Regions from separate parts of the Homo sapiens genome. Here region 1 is linked to region 2. Evidence: promoter capture Hi-C in 16 types of primary human blood cells and fetal thymus (Javierre and others, 2016). All regions are on one chromosome and are shown on one strand. The core of a region is centred on a gene start or on the middle of the fragment in contact, and the rest is flanking DNA. Distances in the headings are between cores, read along the strand shown.

What was found. The method cuts DNA at HindIII sites, captures the fragments that hold promoters and counts their contacts. A CHiCAGO score of 5 or more calls a contact.
Region 1: a fragment that was not itself captured here is called in contact with the fragment with the promoter of ARMCX2 in region 2 in 1 of 17 cell types (M0 macrophages); the score reaches 5.0 in M0 macrophages.

What each region holds. Positions count from the first base shown.
Region 1 is chrX:101,420,931-101,427,833 of GRCh38, reverse strand. It overlaps a transcript of ARMCX4 not described here. Among named protein-coding and RNA genes, the nearest start is that of HNRNPH2, 16 kb to the right of the region's middle. The HindIII fragment of the contact is 2,367 bases long and covers 1,205-3,571 here.
Region 2 is chrX:101,658,560-101,665,362 of GRCh38, reverse strand. It overlaps ARMCX2 (armadillo repeat containing X-linked 2), which reads left to right and starts at 5,513. Exons shown (of 6, transcript NM_177949.4): 1 at 5,513-5,605; 2 at 5,862-5,944; 3 at 6,215-6,287. The HindIII fragment of the contact is 4,840 bases long and covers 5,435-6,803 here.

The sequences.
Region 1 (6,903 bases), core at 1,139-3,638, 230 kb after region 2:
TTCAAAACTGGATTCATTCCCTTAGGAATGAATTAGTTCCCACAAGAGTAGGATTTTATAAAGCCAGGATGCCCCTAAGGTTTTGCCTCTTCACATGTGTTCACTTCCCCTTTGACCTTCTCTGCCATGTTATGATGTGTCAAGAAAGCTCTCGGCCAGGCACAGTGGCTCATGCCTGTAATCCCAGCACTTTAGGAGGCCAAGGCAGGCGGATCACCTGTGATCAGGAGTTCGAGACCAGCCTGGCCAACATGGTGTAACCCCATCTCTACTAAAACTACAAAAAAAATTAGCCAGACACAGTGGCGTGCACCTGTAGTCCCAGCTACGTGGGAGGCTGAGGCAGGAGAATTGCTTGAACCTGGGAGGTGGAGGTTGCAGTGAGCCAAGATTGCACCATTGCACTCCAGCCTGGGCGACAGAGCAAGACTCTGTCTTGAAAAAAAAAATGAGAGAGAGAAAGCTCTCACCAGAAGCTGAGGCCATGCCCTTGAACTTCCCAGCCTGCAAAACTAAATAAACCTCTAAATAAACCTCTTTTCTTTATAAATTACACAGTCTCAGATATTCTGTTATAGTAACACAAAATAAACTAAGACACAAAGTAAACATGTTTAGCTATAGTAGATTTTAAAAACACTGAGTCTTAGACCTCTATTCCCTTCCTAGCCTGGCTTTTTTATTTTAGAGATGTTAACTTTATTTTTCCCCACAAAATGAAAATTATATGTACTCTCTATAGAAAATTGGAAAATACAACAAACTAGAAGGAAAGGAAATCAAAACTCTTGTAACATAGGGTTCAAATAAGCTCTCTCCTTTCTGAGATTTGGCATTGACTCAAGAATGCAGCTAGAGAGTTTCTGGAAAAGTCACTGGACAGACCATCAAGCATAAAACCAACAATGTAGTCCTTAAATGTGATTATACAGATCTATGTTTATCAATGAAAAAGTATGATCAGGACCTATTTTTAGGATATATTTTAGAGTGATGGTTAAGATCATGGGCTTTGGAGTCAGACTACCTGGCTCCAAACCTAGCTAGCTCTTTGTCCTTAAACAAATGACACAACTTTGCTGTACCTCCATTTTACCATCTGTGACAAGGGGGTGATAATAATAATACCTACCTCATAGAGCTGCTTTGGGGATTAAATAAAACACTAGAACACTTAGAGAAGCACTTAGAAAAAAATAAAGCTTGGCTCATAGTAAATTTACCATCAACAACCAGAAGTGAGCCATCAACATTTCTCAGCAGTCCTTCTATTTTTCTCTGGTCAACCTACAACCTGCTCTCACCCTTACAACTCATTGAACCTTCTCCATTCTCTTCAGCCTTCCAACTCCTCCTCCTTATTATCTCTACATGCAGATGACCACACCCTCATTTACAGAAAAAATAACGGGGTTGGGGGAGCCTTTAGAAGGAAGTTGTCTCTCATCTTCCTAACACCAAACATAAACCAACTATACCTGCACACATCCTACCAGCAGTTAGTTCCTCAATTAAGACAGAGATGCTCTTGCCTTTTAGTGAACACTAATTCCTCCACCTATGCTTTCGATTCCAGATGCTCCTCTCTCTTAGCAAACGTACTCTATGATTTATCCCATCTCTCTGCTGTATTTTTAACCACTCACTCCCTACAGACCCTTAATTGTAAACTTTACACATCCACAAAATTTCTCCATTAAAAAAAGTCCTTGGCTGGGTGCAGCAGCTCAAGACTGTAATCCCAGCACTTTGGGAGGCTAAGGCAGGCAGATTGCTTGAGCCCTGGAATTCGAGACCAGACTGGGTAACATGGCAAGACCCCATGTCTACAAAAAATGCAAAAATTAGCCCAGCGTGGTGGTGTGCGCACCTCTAATCCCAGCTACTCAGAAGACTGAAGTGGGAGAATCGCCTGAGCCCAAGAAATCAAGGCTGCAGTGAGCTGTGATTGTGCCACTGCACTCCAGCCTGGGCAACAGCGTGAGACCCTGTCTCAAAAAAATAAATAAATAAATAATTTGAAAGGCCTCTCTTGACCCGTAGTCTCGCTCCTGCTTCTACCCTGACTTTTCCATGCCCTTCACAGCCAAAGTGCTTCAAATAGCTGCCTATATTCTTTGTTTCCATTACTTGCCTACCGGCTGGGCGCAGTACCTCACACCTGTAATCCCAGCACTTTGGGAGGCTGAGGTAGGCGGATCACCTGAGGTAAGGAGTTCAAGACCAGCCTGGCTAACATGGTGAAACCCCGTTTCTACTAAAAATACAAAAAATTAGTCGGGCATGGTGGTGTGCGCCTGTAATCCCAGCTACTCGGGAGGCTGAGGCAGGAAAATTGCTTGAACCCGGGAGGCGGAAGTTGCAGTGAGCCGAGATCGCACCATTGCACTCCAGCTTGGGCAACAAGAGTGAAACTCCGTCTCAAAAAAAAAAAAAAAAAGTGCCTTCCTCTCTCTGCTAACCACACTCCAATCTGTTCCATTCTAGATTTCTGCCCCGTCATTCCATGAAAATAGATCCATCCAGGACACCAATGCCTCCATATTCTTAAATGCAACACATATTTACCAGTCCACATCTTATTTGACCTCTGAGCAGCAATGGACATTGTTAACAGTCCATTCCCTACATCTTGAAACAGTTTCTTTCTTTGGCTTCAATGACACAAGTCCCTCCTAACTTTCTTTTAAACCTCCCTGGCTGCTGTTTCCCAGTCTCCTTTGCAGGCTGACTCTCCTGTACTCCACATGAAATACTGGAGTTTCTCAAGCCTCCTTCTTTGATCTCCTGCATTCTCACTCTGATACTCTTTGGCCTAGACAACCTTATCCCCACACATGGCTTGAATTATCAACTATATCCATATAGCACACAATTTATATATCCAATATATAGGCCCCTTCTGAGCTCTAGATCCATCCATCCAACTACCTATATTCTCTTGGGTGTTCTCAAAGGCACGTCAAACACAGTATGTCTAAGACTAAACTCACAGTCCTCATACCTGAACTTAGTATTCAATGTGATCTTAAAGGTCCTGCTTCTTAATGCTGTTACTCCAAACATCCAGTTGTACAAGCCAGAAACTGAGAAGTCACCCTTGACCGCTCACTCTCACTGTAAGATACAGGGGGGAGTAAACAAAATGTGGATTTTCCTATACTCTCTATTTAATATAGAATGCTTCTGTAGCCCCAGATGTATGGGAGAATTTTCCCATACATCAAGCAATCAGTTTTGCAGTGGACACCAGCTGGATGTCCTCTAATTGAATTCAGTTCTGTTACTACCTACCTGGAGATAGTGTCAGATCCCACAGTTTGAGAGCTCAGGCTCACAAGACTGCTCTCCACTTCAGATGCCAGGTTGTAAGCTATGCTTCTGACTGACCCACTGTAAATCAGGGTTCCCATGACCCTCCCCTTGGGTTTGATTAATTTGCTAGAGAGGGTCACAGAACTCTGAAAAACATGTTTACAGGTTTATTATAAAGGATATTACAAAGCATATAGATGGACAGCCAGATGGAACAATCACATAGGACAAGGTACAGGATAAGGGGCACCAAGCTTCCATGCCCCCTACAAGCACAGCACCCTCTAGGTACCTCCATGTGTTCGCTATCCAGAAGCTCTCCAAACCCAATTCTTTCGGGTTTTTATAGACTTTACAGCCAGGCACGGTGGCTCACGCCTGTAATCCCAGCACTTTGGGAGGCCGAGGTGGGTGGATCACATAAGGTCAGGAGTTCGAGACCAGCCCCACCAACATGGCAAAACCCTGTCTCTACTAAAAATACAAAATTTGCCAGGCGTGGTGGTGCATGCCTGTAATCCCAGCTACTTGGGAGGCTGAGGCAGGAGAATCGCTTGAACCCGTGAGATGGAGGTTGCAGTGAGGCAAGATCACGCCATTATACTCCAGCCTGGGCAACAAGAGTGAGACTCCATCTCAAAATATAAAAATAAAAAATAAATAAAATAGAGGCTTTACTATGTAGGCATGATTGATTACATCATTGGCCACTGCTAGTCAATTTAACCTTCAGCTCCTCTCCCTTCCCCAGAGGCTGGGGGTGTGGTGAAAAAGTCTCAACTCTCTAATCCTGCCTTGACCAGCGCCCCCGTCCTAAATCTACCTAGGAGCCTCAGCCACCAGTTATCTCATTAGCATGCAAAAGATACTTTTTTATTTTTATTTTTATTTTTATTTTTTTGAGACGGAGTTTCACTCTTGTTGCCCAGGCTAGAGTGCAATGGCGTGATCTCAGCTCACTGCAACCTCCGCCTCCCAGGTTCAAGCGATTCTCCTGCCTCAGCGTCCCAAGTAGCTGGGATTACAGGCATGTGTCACCATGCCCGGCTAATTGTGTATTCTTAGTAGAGATGGGGTTTCACGATGTTGGTCAGGCTGGTCTCAAACTCCTGACCCCTGGTGATCCGCCCACCTCGGCCTCCCAAAGTGCTGGGATTACAAGCGTGAGCCACCACCCAGGGCAAAAGATACTCTCATCACCTCAGAGATTCTAAGGGTTTTAAAAGCTGTAATTCGCGAAAATGAGGATGAAGACTACCATGGTTTGAATGTTTGTCTTCTCCAAAACTCATGTTAAAATTTAATTGCCCCATGGGCATGGTGGCTCACGCCTGTAATCCCAGCACTTTGGGGGGCCGAGGCCAGTGGATCGCCTGAGGTCAGGAGTTCAAGACCAGCCTGGCCAACATGGTGAAACATTGTCTCTAGTAAAAATACAAAGATTAGCTGGGCATGGTGGTGGGCGCCTGTAATCCCAGCTACTCGGGAGGCTGAGGCAGGAGAATCGCTTGAGCCCAGGAGGTAGAGGTTGCACTGAGCCAAGATTGCGCCACTGCACTCCAATCTGGGCAACATAGTGAGACTCCGTCTCAAAAATATATATATATAAATAAAATAAAAATGAAAAATTTAATTGCCATTGTAATGAAATCACCTTTGCAAAATTATAACTGAGGAAATTATGACAGTGAAAGAAATCAGACCTAACCGACTCCACCTTGCTTCTAACCTTTAAGCTGTCCTTGTTCATTCCTGGGCATAGGTCAAACTAACTTTGGGAAGGAATTCAGTTTGTGGTTTGATTCTGAAACAAAATTGATCATAGGCGTTTCTTTCCTGGGGACTAGTCTGCCTGTGCAGGACTAACAAATTAGCTACAAGATTAGAAATTACAGTTTAGGGGTCATGCAGCCTCTGGCTCCAAGAGTCTGAACCTCCCCAAATTGCTCCTGGGGATAACATCACTATTGTGAAACCTAAGATCAGTGCCTGAGATACTTTTCAGACCCTGAACTCGATGGAGCAGCTGACACCACCCAGACCTGTAATCTGGCTCAACCAGTTCTGCCATCCCACCCAGAACACAAAACTGCAAGAAAGACTCACTTCGACCCCCTATGATTCCATCTCCAACCTGACTGATCAGCACTCCGTACTTCCCAAGCCCCTACCCACCAAGTTATCTTTAAAAACTCTGATCCCAGCCAGGCACGGTGGCTCACGCCTGTAATCCCAGCACTTTGGGAGGCTGAGGCGGGTGGATCACCTGAAGTCAGGAGTTCGAGACCAGCCTGGCCAACATGGTGAAACCCCATCTCTACTAAAAAATACAAAAATTGGCCTGGCATAGTGGCGGGCACCTGTAATCCCAGCTACTCGGGAGGCTGAGGCAGGAGAATCGCTTGAACCCGGGAGGCAGAGGTTGCAGTGAGCCGAAATCACATCATTGCACTCCAGCCTGGGCAACAGAGCAAGACTCTGTCTCAAATAATAATAATAATAATAATAATAATAATAATAATAATAACTGATCCCCCAAATGCTCTGGGAGACTGATTTAAGTAATAACAAAACTCTGGTCTCCTGCACAGCCGGCTGTGTGTGAATTACTCTTTCTTCATTTCAACTCTCCTGTCTTGATAAATCTCTGTCTAGGCAGCAGGCAAGGTGAACCCACTGGGCGGTTGCAGTAATAGTATTAAGAGGTGAGACTTTTAAGAGGTGATTAAGCCATGAGGGCTCTACCCTCACAGGTGGGATTAATGCCATTATAAAAGGGCAAGATCGGTCTCCTCTTGCTCTATCTCTTGGCCCTTCTTTCTGTCTTCTGCCATGTCATGATCTAGCCTTCCTCCCCTCTGGAGGACACAGTGTGTGCAGGGACCATCTTGGAAAAAGAGAATGGCCTCACCAGACACCAAACCTGCCCACACCTTAACCTTAGACTTCCTATCTTCCAGAACTGTAAGGCAATAAATTTCTGTTTATAAATTACCCACTATCGGGTATTGTTATAGCAGCACAAAACAAACTAAAGACTAAATGTGTACTTCACAATATCACACTCCCTCCCTCCCAATTCCAATCCATTGCCAAGTCCTGCAGATTTTACCTCCTAAGAAACCCTAAAATATACCAATCCCCTCCATGTAAACCATGGCTATTGTAGTACAAGCTACTATTACCTCTACTCTAGATTGTTGAAATGGCTTCTAATAAAACTCTCCATACATTCTGACTCCTTCCCAATCCTTTATCCACACTGTAGCCAGGGCAATATTTTCTTTTCCTTTCTTTTTTTTTTTTTTTTTTTTTGAGACAGAGTTTTGCTCTTGTTGCCCAGGCTGGTGTGCAATGGCGCGATCTCAGCTCACCACAACCTCTGCCTCCCGGGTTCAAGCGATTCTCCTGCCTCACCCTCCCGAGTAGCTGGGATTACAAGCATGCACCACCATGCCCGGCTAACTTTTTGTATTTTTAGTAGAGACGGGGTTTCACCATGTTGGTTGGCCAGGCTGGTCTCGAATGCCCGACCTCAGGTGATCCACCTGCCTCAGCCTCCCAAAGTGCTGGGATTACAGGCATGAG
Region 2 (6,803 bases), core at 4,264-6,763:
CCTTGGTAATGGGTAACCCCAGGGACCTGGCACCACCTCCAAATCCATGTGATAGGATGTTTTGCCATCCTGGAATCTACAGAGGACTGGGTTTTTTTACAAAAATAAAGATGTTTAATAATTCTTTCACACATGAGTTAAGTTTCATACCTGCTTCATGAAAGGCAGCAAAAGGGTAAGGTTATGATTATTATGCTTTGTTATTATGAAACATTAATTAATAGGATGTTTATGAAGCATTTTCATTAACTAATAAAAGTAATACCCTGCAATGCTTCTGAAAAAATAATAATTTCAGGGCAACATATAGTATGACTGCAATAATGTTAAATACACACAACCACATTCTTAGAGAGGAAAGACAAGGAGTGGTAATTATTGGTGGCTTATTTTTATTTTATTTCTTATAGTTTTCTGTATTTTCTAAACTTTTGTAGATGTGATTATTGTTTTTCAAATCAGCTGGTCTCTTCTTTTTTTGCTGTCTACCACAGGCCAGTCAGTATATGTAGTACGAGGCACCAGCCCAAATCACCAGTCCCACTGCCATCAAGTCTGAGTTCTAAGCTCGGACCATTCTACAGCACTGTGAATGTCTCAGGGGTGCTCCCTTAGGCTAGTGAGAACACATTGAGGGCAGGAGTTTGAAGCTTCAATCAAGTTGGATGTAGGGACTGAGTGTTTAGGGGGAGGGGAAGGAGGAAGGAAATGAAGCTTTTAGCTTCTCCTCCTTTTGCGTGGAAACCCCACCACTGACAGACAGAGCAGCAGACACAGACAGACGGAAGCGAAAACCAGACAGGAACAAAGAAAAGACAATTCGGACTTAGTGCTCAGTGGATGCACCAACATCTGAATGTAGGTCCAGACCCAGACCTTTCCCTGTTCAGAATCCAGGTTGTCAAGCCTGTCTCTTATTTCACAGTCCTCCGTCACTCTGCTACATGATAACCACTTTCTCCCCTCCACCTCCTCTAGTCACCAATGTCAACCATTTCTGCTGCTGACACTGCCCTGCCTTTGACAAGTCACAAAATGAGAACAAGCCTGGGTTCGGGTTGTCCCCTTGGGGAAACAGAGAAGTGCCTCCTAACTTGAAAATTGTGCTGCTCCCTTCCACCTGGACTTCAGGAGTCTCCAATCAACACCCACCTTCACAGCAACCTACAAGGATCTGGATGGGTTTCCTCCCTGTCCTCCTCCACCTTCTTTGGCCACAGTCACACCACCTTTAAGGAAACAGGGAGCTGGTAGCTGAGGAGGAACCGCTATTTGGACCAACACACCAGCATGTCAGCTCCTGGTCACGTGAAGCCACGTCACTGGTGAGTCTGGGTCCCAAATTTCCCCTCCCATTATTTGCAAGGCCCCTCACTCCCCCGCCTTCCCTCCCACCACCTCCACCATGCAGGGCACTGTCACTCGTTTTCTTTTTAGTCTTCGTGCACACAACAAAAGTGTCATCTTTCTCTGATTACCAGAAGAAACAGCATCTTCTCCTGAGCTACTGGTCATTTCTGCTTCTCTGGGAAACGGGCCCATCCTCTTCTCTGCTCCCTTCACCACTTCCATTTGGGCTCACTAATGTTCATCTCTGCAGTCCTGAAAATACCTGGAAATGAAGATGAGGGAGGGAGTGTCAGGAAAGGAAACAGTAGGAATGGATTCTGTTACTTTCTTGTTAACACCATTCTGTTCTTTGTTATACAAACATGCATTTTTATTATTGAAAAATGTTAAAGAACTATTTCCATTCAAGAAAAATGATTCACTTTTATTAAATGGCATATATCATAAACAATAATTCTCACTGCATAATGAGTTCTGCACATGTCACTCAAAGCAATCTTAAGTTTTCTACATCTTGTCCCATGACAACATCCTGATTAGGTAATCACTCATTTGAGAGTTTACAAATCTGATGATATGCCAGAACCAACTAGGCTTTTTTCTGGAGTGTAAAGGTGGTTGAGTGTTGGAAAGCCATTCATTCATTTATTCATTTATTCAACATGTGTACTGAGCAGGTACTACATGCCATGCATTGTTCTTGATGCTGTGGTTACAGCGGTGAATAGAGATGACCTAAATTTCTAACCTCATAGTTCTTACTTTCTAGTGAAAGAGACAACCAACCAACAAGATAAAACATATAGTATATTGTTATTAATAAGTACTAAAGAAAAAATAAATGGCAGGAAAGAAGATATGAAAAGTCAAGATGGGATGAACTTTTAGAAAGGGTGACCAAGGAAGGACTCACTAAAAAGGTGACCTTTGAGTAAAGATCTGAAGTCTGTGAGGGATCTAACTAAGTGTGGTGATGTGGGATGGAAATACATCCCAGGTAAGGAGACGAGCAACTGAAAAGGCTCTGTAAAGGGAACATGTCCAGTATATTCCAGGAACATCAAGAAAGCCAAGATGACTGAGTAGGGTGAGTTAGATAGAGAGAGAGAAGTAGATTAGGCAGAAAAGTAGTAAGATTGAACAGGGTAGGGCCTTGTCAGTTATAATAAGGACATTTATATTTCCTCTAAACAACACAGTAAGTGGGTGGGGAGTTTGAACAAGGGACATGTGTCTGGATATGTTGAGAATAAACTATAGGAAGAGAAGAGTGACAGGGAGACTGGCCTGTCTACATCATTCCTGACAACAGCAAACCAAAGAAGAAAAGAAACCTCATAATGAAAGCATTTGATAAAATAAGTAACCATTCCTAATTTAAAAAAAAAGTAAAATAGGAATAAGAGGGAACTTCATTTATGTAGTAAAGAATTATACGTAATTTAATGAGTCGTTCTTAGATGAATTAAATTAGATATAAAAGAAAATATCCTTAACCTGATGAAGAAGATATCAGGAGCTCTTCTGATCTGGCAGATTCATCCCTTTCTCTGGACTATCAAGATTACAGAACTTAATGACTTGCCTCCATTCACTGATAGTATTTCTTTGTACTACGTGTGTGTGTGCACGTGCGACAGAGAGAAAGAGAGGGACTAGTAAACATAAGTGAAATTAGCCTTGAAAAAAAAATACATCAATCACAAACAACAAAAGTTATACTAAATAATGAAACAAAAGAGGCATTCCCACTGTCTTCAAGAACAAGATCAGGAGGCTCGTAAGGAAGTTCTAGTCAATGCCAGTCATTAAGTTCTGTGATCTTGGTAGACCACAGGGAGGGACGAATCTGCCAGATCAGAAGAACTTCTGATATATTCTTCATCAGGTTAAGGATATTTTCGTTTATGTCTAATTTAACCAAGAATGACTCATGCAGAAGAAGAAAGAAAAGGGGGCATAAATGTTGGAAAGGAAGAAATGAAAAATCATCATTTACAAATGATTATATATAATACCAAGATAAACCAAAGGTATCACTTTAAATTAGAATTAATAAAACAGATCACAAAAATTTGGAACTTGATTAATAAGCACAAACGCACTACTAATGTGTCTAAAAAGAAAGTTGGAAACTGTTGACAGTGGCTGGGAGTGGAAAAGATAACAAAAGTTTCTTTCCCTGTATACTTTATATATTTCCTTATTGTTTTGAATATTTTTAACCACTAATATATAATACTTGTATTACCAGAACAAAATACAAGATTCCTAATCTGGACTATTATATATATATAACACAGACCCTCTTGGCCATTGTATTAGCTCTTAATTTTTTGCAGGGCGGGGGTTACAGACCCCTTGAGAAACTGATGAGGTCAGTGATCTCTGTTCCTGAAAAAAATGCATTTAACCACACATATAATCCCAAACAAAGCTTTGCAGGTGAATGCAATTTCAGGTGGTCTACAGAGTTGACCGGGTGAGAACACCTACTCTGGGTTCATCAGTGGGGATTGTTCCCTGGGCATACATTTGGTTGAGAGGGCACCAAGGTGGATGTGTACTGGCAGGCAGTAACCTTGCAGGAAGGCTAGACTCTTCCTAGGTCCCCTGGAGCTAAGGAGGCAGAAGTGAGAGGCCCAGGAGGATGCATCTCTTAGGCCAAGTGGTAGTAGCAGACAGTGTTTGGAGCAAGGTTCACTGGTAACCACGAATAAGGACAGACAGCAGTCAGGCCTGGGAACTTCCCCCAACAATCACTTTTTGTGTGATCACAAAAACCTTTTTGTGAAATCACAGGTTTCACAAATCGTCAGCTGCAGGGTCAGGTAAGAACAGCAATCCTTTCTATGCATCAATGGGTTTCCTCTGGGAACTTGGGGGAGGGACGGAAAGAGCCAAAGACATTTAACCAGGTCTGCATCTTGGTCACTTGTCTGGATATATTTTGGGTGTGAGCAACTGAGCCAGGTACCTGAATGCAGGAGATGAGCGGCTCTGGCATATGGGAGGGAGTAGAGAGACAGCATCTCCCTCCTCCTCCTGACAGGGCAGGGAGGATTTGACCACTCTGCACCCACCACACTCAGTTTCCTTGGCCTCACAGCTCTTCCTTTTGCCCAGAGTTGAATCATTAACTGGAACCTAATCCGAAGACAGGTGTTTAAAACTGTCATGGTTACAGCCATCAAATTACAGGAGGTTCACACACAGCAGTCAGCAATGGTTTGGGAATATTAAATAAATGTGTTTCTCTAACAGGACAAGACAGGATCATTTATTTATGCAACTTAAAAGCTGTCCCAGAAGGAGAAAAAAGTAGCGTATTATTTGTCCAAAATAAACAAGATTGAAGAACTGAACATCTCTCTGTGGATCAATTTACAGATCACATGGAAATATGCTTATCTTATTGAGAAATATTCCATTTTAGATGTTCAAATACCTTAGCATATTTTAAAAACTATTTCCTATGTGACCAAAAGAATTCATGTTCTATTCGGTAAAAATTAACCAAAATTAATGGTGCTTTCCAATGGACGCAGGAAACCTTTTTTCTTTACAAAACATGCCCACCCTTTTTTTGTTGCTACTTCCCACATTGAATTCTTGTTTTACTGAATTTTCTTACTATAAAAATAAAGCATGATGATAGTTTTGAAAACAAAACAGAAGTATTTGAGAAGTACAGACCCCACTCCCACTCCTTGTCTCCTTTCTGACACTCTGCCCCTTAACTATACTGGAACAGGGAGTCAACTGCAAGGAAAATCCTGGGGACTAGGGGCTGAGGAACTAGAGGTGGAGAGATGGAAGAGTGTCCAGTAGCCCAGGAAAGGATGAAACAATTCCCCAACAAAAAAGTAAAAATTTTCAGTAGCCCTCCGAGAAGATGCAGCCCCTCCCAGGTAACCAGAGAAAGGCAAATTGTGAAAGCAGGGAGAAGGGGCTACTTTAGGCCTCCAGGACTACAAAGACAAAAAAATGAGTGACAGGACCTGATGTGGTGGGGTGAGATGGGAATGGAAGTAAAGGAGGGGGCTCGTACTCTTGGTGGGAGTGGAAATTGGGGACCCAAGCTTACTGGCGATGCAGCCCTCACGTGACCAGGAGCTGACGTGGGCAAAGGTACTTAAAGCCCTGACCGTCGTTCTCCGTCCTCCTCTGGGTACCAACTCTATTGCGCAGCTCGCTGCCGTGCGTTTAACCCAGGCGAGGAGGAGGAGGAGAAAATTCCCCCAGATTCGGGCAGGTGGGTGTGAGGGTGGGCACAGTCTGGGACCCCTGAATAGGGGTAATCTAGGGATGCGGGAGTCGGAGGCCGCGGGTGCCTCGGTCTCCCCCACTCCTGGCCGGCTTTCCAGACCTGAGGTGCTCAAACGCGGCTCATTTTGGTGGGCGGTGGGGAAAGGGGGAGGGGGAAACGAAAAGACTTTTGATAGACTTTACGAAGAATCCGCTTACTTCCTTTCCAGCCAGTGTTTTTTGGTTTTGTTTATAATATTCAGGCCCGCACCCCACATTCCGTCCTGTTTTGAGAGGAGGAGGGAAGAGAAATAAACGTGGCAGCGCATAGAAGGCCAGCAGGGAGGTTGGGAAAGGGTAACCAGGAGGCGGGGGTGGGGCATGCAATTTGGTAACAATCTGGGCGGCACACTCCCACCCTGACTTTCCCCACCACCGCCCCGGCACCCTCCCATCCCCCAGCCGACCCTCTGTGATTTGGGAGTGCTGGGAAATGGGTGTACCAGCTGCTGTTGGAGAGGTGGCGGGTTTGGCGCTGTCTGGGCTTCACGGGAGGTGGGGGGGAGGGGGCGGACCCTGAGAGAATCTGGTATTAAACCGCCTTGTTAACTCGCAGACTGCTTTCCAGACACCTCCGGCCCACACAGCCGTTCACCCCCCGTCTTTTCAGTCCTGGAAAAGGAATTCGGGTATGCAGGCGGGAGAAATGGCGGTTGTTGGGGGGATTTGTGGGAAGTGGGAGGTAGAGCCCATAGCAGAGAAATCGTGGAAAATCTCGACCCTGAACCCGAAAAGGCAGACGTTGAGGCCCCTCTTCTGCAGGCTAACGCTAGGCCTAGGGGCTGGGGAGCGAAAGATGGGTGATCCTGGGAGGGGAACACTGAATTGTTTGGCAGGAGTCCCCCATACCGCGTCCCATCCAGCTTTTGCTGCACCCTCGCCCCGCTCCCCTCCCGCTTCGTTGCAGGAGAAGGGGTGTGGCGGTGTGTCCTGGAGAAATGGCGGACGGGGGCGGGGCAAAGCGGAAGGAGGGATTGAGTGCCTGGGGAGCCTGCGCAGGAGGAGGATTGAGGTGGGAGGGGTGGGGTGAGAAGAGTTGAAGGAATTGAGAGGTAGAATCATTTGACATTCTGATGTGCAAACACGAAAAGGCAGTTACTGAGACCCTTGTCCTGGATGCTGATCCATCCACCAGGCTTTCATTG